Regions from separate parts of the Homo sapiens genome. Here all the other regions are linked to region 2. Evidence: promoter capture Hi-C in human tissues and cell types (Jung and others, 2019). All regions are on one chromosome and are shown on one strand. The core of a region is centred on a gene start or on the middle of the fragment in contact, and the rest is flanking DNA. Distances in the headings are between cores, read along the strand shown. Region 1 overlaps SFTA3 (surfactant associated 3). Region 2 holds the start of NKX2-8 (NK2 homeobox 8). Region 3 has its middle 13 kb from the start of PAX9.

Region 1 (2,832 bases), core at 265-2,764, 75 kb after region 2:
GAAACACGCTCAAATGGCAAAAAGTTGCAAAATAGATCGACCTCCCAGAGAAGAGACAGAGCTGGTTACAGAGGTCTGCACCCATCATCCTTTTTTCAATACATTTTAAACAAGAGGATCTAGCGAGTGATTCTGATTCAATACACATAATCAGTTTGCAAGTCTTATTTCCATTTGAAAACAGGGCCATTTGCAATCATAAGAGCCGGACACGCTGAAAGATACGGAGCGCATTCCGAGCAGATGATGGGTGACAGAATCTGTAGGCAAGCACTAAATATTTTCTTCCAGCTTCAGACCTTGTGCATCAGTCTTCTGTCCCGAACCATTTTAAATGGAATGTTCCTGTTGAATATATAATTTAATTGCTTAGAAAATGGAGACTCCATGGTTGGGAGGAAAAAACCGGCAAGAAAGGTGACAGAGAAACTATGTTGATTGTGCTTCTCCTCAGTACTGGTTAACAGTCATTTAACGAAGAGTCTACCCATTGGGTAGAAGACTTGATGGAAAAAATGAATTGGTTTTTAAAGGAACAACCGCCAGAAGGGGTTGCCGGGGCTAACATTCTCAGGCTGGAGCTGCAAAGCCCTGGCTGGGTGTGGCCGGGACTGGCGGGGAGTCTGCGGGGCCTTCAGGGAAGCCCAGGGACAACTCCGCGGCCTCCCAACGACGCCGCCAAAGACCTGGGGGCCCCTCGCGGCCCGGCTGTTCCGAATTGGTTGCCAAATGTCTAAACTAGAAGTGTGGACACTTGAAATCTCGAGCTGTCTTAGGGTCTCTCGCTACGAAAGTTTGGTTTCTAGGACCAAGAGAAGCAGCTGTCCCAGGCCCTTCGTTTCCTGTCCGCAGCCTCATCCTCCCCGCACCCCCCAGCTCTCAGTCTCCCCAGTCCCAGTCCTTACCCCGTCCACCCGCGGCCTCTCTCCCAACACCCAGCCGGCAGCCTCGCTCTCGGCCCCCGCCCGCCCCGCGTCTCCGCGTACCCAGGTCCCCGCGCCCCGCCCCGCCCCGCCCCTGCCCAGGTTCTCCCTCCCGTTCCCGCGCTGGGAACAGCCTCGGCCGCGCGCCCCCTGAGGACGCGGCCCCCAACCCCTCCTGGAGACCACACCGGCAAGTCTGGTGTGCGGAAGAGCAGAAACTTCCTCGGAATTTCGATCCCAGAATATACAAATATTAGTTCACTAGGTCACGACGATGATGCAAACTCTAACTTGCAGGGATTTTTAAAAAAGATCTTAACGCACAATCTTTCTTTGTACAAATAAACGAAACCAAACAAAGCCAGCGAACTACTGCTGTTTCCCTCGTGAATTTTCTTAAGGAAAAGAGAGATTCCTTCTCTCCCCAGATATCAACATCTAACGAATTTTCTAGGAGACTGAAACTCAACCTAATAATAGTATGTGCTTAATGCTGATTCCATTTTTGTTTCAAAGGGGGGTAATTTATTAGCTTCCTCAAAGTGGTGCCTCGTAGGCAGGTGTTGTATTTTTTGATATCCTTGTAAAGAGTTTTTGCGTCTGGGAAGATCTCAGAAGAACCAATAAATAAGGTGTGTGTATGTTGGGGGGTGGAGGTGGGATTCTGTACAGCTCATGGCCCTGCTTGTTCAATTTCATGCAAAACTCATTCTAAAAGCCCCAGGGTTCTCTTTAATAGGGGCCAAATGGCAGGAACCCCAAAGATCTAAATATTTCACTCTTCCTCCCTGTACCTCCCTCACTGCGCCTTCCACCCCCAGCTATAAATTCTAGATTCCCCTCCCCGCCCCCCCCCCACCCATCCTGCGGATAATTGAGTGGCTCAGAGGCACTAATCTGCCCTGGGGTGAGGTGGGGCTGGCAGTGGAGGTAAGGCCTCCCACAGGCTCCCTGGTTCCGCAAAATGGGAGGACAGAACTCCTACAACTGGCAGGAGGTGAAGAGGACGCTGGGACCCACAGGACCTAGTCTGCCAGGGGAAAGGGAAACAGGCTCCCCTGACTAAGGACACAGCCTCAGACCAGGCTTGGCTGGGTGGACAGGAATGTGGTGCCCAAGAGCAGCAGAGATCCAGGGTAGGAAGTTGCAGCCATCTGAAAACCCCATAGAGATATATTGCCCACATGACTATTTCTAGAAGTGGTGGTTGATCCCTTCACACCTTCCCGGATCCAGGATATACAGCGGCTCGCTAGCCCAAGTCTTCAGGTGCAATCCCAGTCAGGGAGAAGAAACTTCACCCTGCCCTCCTCAGGGAGACCCCTCCTGCCTCCCCAGTGTAGGTATGTGAGACCCTCATTAGGACCCCAAGATCATGTGCAGGAACATCAAGCATCTTATTCTTGTATTTACAACCTGGTGTGACTTTATTATCTACTTTTCTTCTGTTTCTTCATCCTTCCCCATTTTCCATTTCTTTATTCCAATGCCGATGTTTTCTTTGCTTTCTTGTCCAACTCCAGTCATGGCTGCAATCCTACTTTATAGGCAATTCGGTATTGTTTATCCTAATGTCAGTACTAAAAGGAAAAGTAGAGAAAGTGGATAGGCTAAGTAATAAAGAATGAAAGCCAGTAAGGTCCATATGGGAGACCAGTTGGGGAGTAAGAAGACCAGAGAAGAGCCAAGGTCAGCCTATCAAAGGACTAGGGAGAAAAACGATAGAAGCAAAGAGAAGCCGCAGCCTGGAGAAAATCAATTAATGTCAGTAGATGGGGAGGAGGGAGTACAGCCGGGACCCAAGGCATATGCCTCCCCTGGAGGGGCATAGAGAGGGATAAGGGGGAAGCAGATGTGTGTATGGCAGTCTGTCTCTGAGCTGAGGGGCAAAAACTAGCAAAGCTTGCCT
Region 2 (2,850 bases), core at 242-2,741:
CTTTGTCCGCGGCCTAGCAGTTGGCCTGTATTGGGGTTGCCTCCGCCCGACCACCCAGCGCGCGGTGCAGCTCCGGGCACCTCGGGCACGCTTGATAGGGAGGCTGCTGGGGAGGGTGCGCGGGGCTTGACAGGGCCGCCGCCGCCGCATCCGAGCCAGGTTCGAGTTCAGCCCGGGAGGAGCCAGGACTTCTGGTGCAGCCACCCAAGTACAGAGCCCTTCGCTACAATTTAGCAACTAAATATCCAAACTACTAGCTTCAGTAGGAGAGGCCTCTGAGAGGGCGTTCCTCTGTAGATTGAAGCGCGGCCAGAGCTAGGCCATGGCCCAACAAAATGTATCCACGGCGGCCTGTTCCCTGCGCCTCCTACATTGATCATTTTCTAGGGTGGAACTGTGGAAACTAGAAGATCCCAGAGAAACCCATGGCCGGTGGTATTTTCTGCCGGGTAGGCCCTGTCCTAATTCTCCCGATCGGTCCATTCCCGGACCAAGGCGGGCAGCCTCGTCAGGGTCTGCCATGCTGCGAGCGGGGAGCGTAGGCCATGGGCAGGCTCCTGGGCAAAGACCAAAGCCCAGGCAGTGAGAGTGCCGTTGAGGCTATGGGGCCAAGGCGCACAGGCGGCACCAGTTCATCTGGCGACTCCAAGGAGGCCTCAAAGCCCTCACAGGATGCCCTGAGAAGCGCCCCCGCCCAGGGGCTCTAAAGCGGGCCTGGACCCAAATTTGTGGAGCTCGGCCTCCGAGCTCCGAGATCGGCAGCGGCCGGGCGAAGCTGGGCCAAAGAGACAGGCACTGTAGACCTAAGTAGCTTGGCTACAAGCCTCTTCTGTTTTGCCGGCCTGTGGAGACGTGGAGCTGGGGCTCCGAATGTTGTCCCAGCCCTTCCTCAGCACCTCTGAGGCTGTTAGGGGGATGTATGGTGTGATCCGAGGCTCCCAGCGGCCGTTGAAACCCCTGGGCCAATGCTGGCAGGGCCAGGCTAATCTTTACGCCCTCCTGAAACTTGTCATCCTGAATCTTAGAGGGGCCCAACCAAAAAGAGAAAGGGAGCGCGCCAGAGTTTAACGCCGCTTTGTAAATCACTTTCTGGATAATTGCGGGAAACTACCACTCCAGCAAACAAGCTCGAAGAATAAAGCAAACAGGGAATAAATTCCTGGGTGCTAATAAACCCACCCCTGCCACCCCCACCCTTCCCGGCGCTCCCGCGGGGCCTGGCCTCAAGTCAGCCCAGGAGGAGGAGGAGGAAGCTGGGGCTGGGTCAGGCGGGTGGTGGCCACCGCTCGCCACCCAAGATGTTATTCACTGGTAACAATCCCCATTATCTGTCCCCACTTTGGGCTAATCAGACAGAATCGCTAATGCCAAATGCTGCTTCCTGCAGCCTCTGGGAGGTAACTGGGCGCCAAGGGGCGGGGTGCGGGGCGGGGTGCGGGGCGGGGCGGGGGCGGAGGTGGCACCTTCCGGGCTCGCCCCGGCTCTGGTCCAGTGCTCATTCAGGTACTTAACACCCTGGAGACCCGGACCTCGGCTTTCAAAGCGGCCTGGGTGGGAAGAGCTGTTTATATAAACAGAGATTCCGCTGTAAATGCGCTAATATCCCGGCTGCCAGCGCATGGCGAGCGCCTCCCACGCCCATCCGTAGGAGCGGCGTCCCGGCCGCCCCTCCGTTCCCAGCCTGCCCTGCCCCCGCCTCCTTCCCCTCCTCGGCCATGGCCACCTCTGGACGCCTGAGCTTCACCGTGCGCAGCCTTCTAGATTTACCCGAGCAGGACGCGCAACACCTGCCGAGGCGGGAGCCAGAACCACGCGCCCCCCAGCCCGACCCCTGCGCCGCCTGGCTGGATTCGGAGCGCGGCCACTACCCTTGTAAGTGCGTGGTGGATTGCGGTGCGGGGTGGGAGGTAGGAGGCGTGGGGCAGCAGAATCAAGGGCCCAGCCCACGAGGGGCCGGAAAGCCGAAATCCCAGCCCAGAGTCTAGATTTCCTCAGTCTTGGAAACGGGAGCCCTGTCCTCGAACCCCTAACGCATTCATCCCGGTCGGCACATCCTAAGAGCAGATCCCTGCCTGGCACTGGTGCTCCGAGATTTGGGGTTTCTGTGTCTGACGATTTCTAGAGGTCGGAATAATTGAAATTTAAAACGCGCCGCCACCTGCCGCCCCCACCCCACCCCCCGCCCCCTCTCCATGCCTGAAAACACGGCCACGATCTCCAGGCCTCCGTCTGGGATGGCCAGTGTTGGCGAGTTTACCCCCACCCCGTTCCCACTCAGGGCTCCGCAAACCTCGGCACACTGCAGTGCAGTCGACCTGGAGGAGGCCGGCGCTGGTGACCCAGCTTGTGATAAACTGGTCGGCCAGCGCAACTACCGGTGCGGACATGTTAAGAGGGCCCCGGGGTGGGTTTTTTCGGGGCACGATCTCAGGCCCGCTGATGACCGCTGTGGTATGAATGAGGTCACCGCATTCGGAGAGGTGGATGTCCAGATGTGGACTCAGGAAATGGCCTCATCCCGAAAGTCTCGGGCTAGTGGGCGTGCCCTCTGGCCAGTGCCTCCACGCCCGCGCCAGAAGGGCAGCAGGCCCTCGTAGGGTCCGGCGTCTCACCCACCCGTGTCTCCTTTGCTGTCCCTAGCCTCGGACGAGAGCAGCCTGGAGACCAGCCCGCCAGACTCGTCGCAGCGGCCGTCCGCTAGGCCCGCGTCTCCGGGCTCGGACGCCGAGAAAAGGAAGAAGCGGCGGGTGCTATTCTCCAAGGCGCAGACGCTGGAGTTGGAGCGGCGCTTCCGGCAGCAGCGGTACCTGTCTGCGCCCGAGCGCGAGCAGCTGGCGAGCCTGCTTCGCC
Region 3 (2,958 bases), core at 137-2,636, 66 kb before region 2:
AACACAAAGTCAACCTTTGCCATCTGTACTTGCTCACAAATCCCCAAAAGCAGGTAGATTGGCCTTAGCTACACAGCATTAAGGAAACACGAGCTTCAGCCAATCCAAAGTGGAGTTTGGAGCGATGAGAAGCCACTCAAAGTTATCAGTGTTCTGTGGCTGTTCTCTGATCCATGGTTTAAGTCCACTCATACAGTTGGACCAGAAATGATGATTTTGACAAACTCCAGTTTATCTCCTGGAGCTTTCTTGGAACATCAGTTTGGGTTATTTTCTGTAGTATAGTTGTACGTGCCAATCTCAGGGCAGCTGCCTTTCTTTAAGCTCATGACTGAGGGTGGCAAGAGGTAGTGATTAGTCATCTAACCTCTCAATAGCTGTAAATACTAATTGAATATTTTGAACAACTCTTCAGGTCACATGACAACATGTGGCCATTTGCTTCTTAGACTTCTATTGCATAGCTCGGGGAGCAAATATTCTTTAATAATTGTTAAATATATCTTACAAATCTTCCAAAGAGGAAAAAGTCTCCATCCAAAATTAAACACAGGTTATGTGCTAAAAATGGGCAGTTGGAACTAAAACATAGCTGTTATTATCTTTTCTACAATAACATTTACACACTATTAACTTTTCTGCAATAACGGAACATTAAAGAATAAAATGTAAATTTTACTGCTTTATTTGCAGGGATGAAGGTCAGAGTGTCAAATTGCAGATTTTGGATCCTCAATAATGGGCCGCTGTATTTAACCTCTTCAACTTCTTTTCTCCACTTATAAGAAGGAACAAAATAAAATGTTTTGTGGAAGTTTATATTGAAATGAGGTCAGGTAAACTAATGACTGCTTGGTATTTTATGACAAGTTTTATAACCTTGGAGTTGCCATAACTTTCAAACGATCATCAATAAAGTTTTATTGCAAAAGGGTCGCCATGTGTCTGAATGCTTTTGCACATAGTAAAGCTATGCTGCCCCATTGTCGTAGCTCACCAGCCCCTTTTCACCCCAGCCATAAAGTCCTCTTCTTTTTTATTGGAGGTTGAAAAGTCCTCGGGTCTGCTCTCCTCCATCAAGTTGGCAATGTGGGAACAACACAGAAATTAAACTACATGATTAAATGATCGTACACAACCAAATCTTCAAGAATATGTAATAAGACTGCTTTTTAATAATTATAAATTTGGATTTTAAATGGGTTCCATTTAATAAAATAAATGACAGTGGGCGGCGGGTGGGAAAGGAGGAAGTCAGATGAGAGTTTCCTCCAGAAACTTGTGTTTGAATGTTAGATAAGACCTATCAGTCTACCCGATATACCCAGAGGGCTGCCATTAAATAATTAGGTGCTTAGGGACCGATAATGGTCTCAAGACAAAACAACGAATTGCTAAAGACTCTTTGAGCTGACCCGAGGATCTTAAAGATTTAAGAGGCCTCGCATTGCGTCCTAACTTGAATTTTCCCACGGAGGGAAGGGTTGGGCTACAGCTCATGCTTGCCCGATTGCTGCCTAACACATTCCCTAAACGCTCCCTAAAGCCAAACCAAGAACTTCAAGTGTCCACTTCACGGCATCAGCTGTCAGGTTCAGGTTCGGGTCCGCCTACTCCTTGTCCACTGCCGAATGCTATGTGGAAATGAAGCCGAGAATAATGTCCTGCGATTTAGATGAAGAGAACAGTAAGAAAGGTAGTATGAAACGAAGCTTCTACTGACGCGCCCTTCAGACAGGTATTCCGCAGGCGAGGGTTGTGACCCAGGGAGAGAGTGCGGGAGTGCTAGCAGAGCGGCGGGAGCGGAAGGAGAGGCTGGACGAAAGTTGGAAAATCATCCCATCTCGGGACTTGAGTGCGAGAGCCCGCCCCGGAGTCGGCAAGTCTCCAGGGTTAGAAGGCCCTAGCTCCAAAGTTTTTTGTCCCGGCTCAGGCAGGTCCCCCACCTCTAACCTTCCCCGATTTGCCTGGTTGCTCTCGGGGAAGGGACTGGTAAATACCGCCCTCTCCCGGATTTCCTGAAACTCTCACCAGCGCGCTGAACCCGCTCCTTCCCACGTTCGGCGCCCCGCACTCTGCGTCTGCGCCCACTGCGCGTCACCTTCCCTCCGGCCGAGACCACTAGAGCCCTAGATCCGGGATCTGCGGAGGGAACAGGACCTGAGCCCCTGCTGGACCCTGCAACTTGGCTGCGGAGAGCGCGCAGCCACAAGCGCCGTTCCTCACTTGAGGGCTTCGCGAGAGCTGGCTCAGCCCCGCGGGTCCCCGCCAGTCCTCGCCAGCCCTCGCCAGCCCCGGTCGGCCCCACGCTAAGTCCGCAGCAGGCGGGAAACCCCGCAGGCCTTCCCGGACTCACGAACTGCCTACTCCCACCCCTAAAGAGCTCAGACCTGAAGGTGCTCTTATGGTGCGTGGCCGCAACCCCGGAGTGGAATGGGTGGGGGGCCTCCATGGCGAAGGAGACGCCGTGGGCGAATCGGCTCCCAGCTCGCCCCTCATGTCCTACAGGTCACTAGCCGAGTCCCTACCCCGGGCGCTCCCATGAGGCACCAAGAGCAGCCACGGCCCAGGGAAGGGCCTGGGTCTTCACTGCTGGAGCGGGCCCCAGTCGAGGGCGCGCAGGTGTCGGGGTCCCCAGCAACCTCCGTATGCGCGGAAAGCCGTAAACGGGGTTCTGAGGCCGGCGCCAGGCACAAGGATCACCCCGCGCCACGGGCCACGGCTCAGAGCGCCCACGAAGCCCGGCTGCCAGGTCCAGGCCGCGGCCGGGCGGGACCCACTCGCTCCCCACGGTGCTGGCGCGGCGGGAGTCGGGCTGGTTAAGGCGGGAGGCCGGCACTGCCACGGGCTGTGGCGCCCCCTCCCGAAGACACCTCGCCGGAAGTGCGGCTCCCGCCTGGCAGGCGCTGAGACTCCTCGGCTGTAGCGCGAAGGCCCCGGTCCGCGCAACTTCCCATA

Evidence for each region. Contacts are between HindIII fragments. The study calls those that stand out against the background at their distance.
Region 1: a contact is called between a fragment that was not itself captured here and the fragment with the promoter of NKX2-8 in region 2, in 4 of the 25 tissues and cell types used here (H1 embryonic stem cells, heart right ventricle, mesendoderm cells and 1 more).
Region 3: a fragment that was not itself captured here is called in contact with the fragment with the promoter of NKX2-8 in region 2 in 9 of the 25 tissues and cell types used here (H1 embryonic stem cells, bladder, heart left ventricle and 6 more).

What each region holds. Positions count from the first base shown.
Region 1 is chr14:36,506,566-36,509,397 of GRCh38, reverse strand. The region is part of intron 1 of SFTA3 (surfactant associated 3); the gene reads left to right. Among named protein-coding and RNA genes, the nearest start is that of NKX2-1-AS1, 11 kb to the left of the region's middle. RefSeq lists an enhancer at 1-605. The HindIII fragment of the contact is 4,246 bases long and covers 1-2,832 here.
Region 2 is chr14:36,581,255-36,584,104 of GRCh38, reverse strand. It overlaps NKX2-8 (NK2 homeobox 8), which reads left to right and starts at 1,491. Exons shown (of 2, transcript NM_014360.4): 1 at 1,491-1,872; 2 at 2,641-2,850. The coding sequence starts at 1,716. RefSeq lists an enhancer at 2,100-2,850. The HindIII fragment of the contact is 13,278 bases long and covers 1-2,850 here.
Region 3 is chr14:36,647,173-36,650,130 of GRCh38, reverse strand. No RefSeq gene overlaps it. Among named protein-coding and RNA genes, the nearest start is that of PAX9, 13 kb to the left of the region's middle. RefSeq lists an enhancer at 1,950-2,779. The HindIII fragment of the contact is 7,467 bases long and covers 1-2,958 here.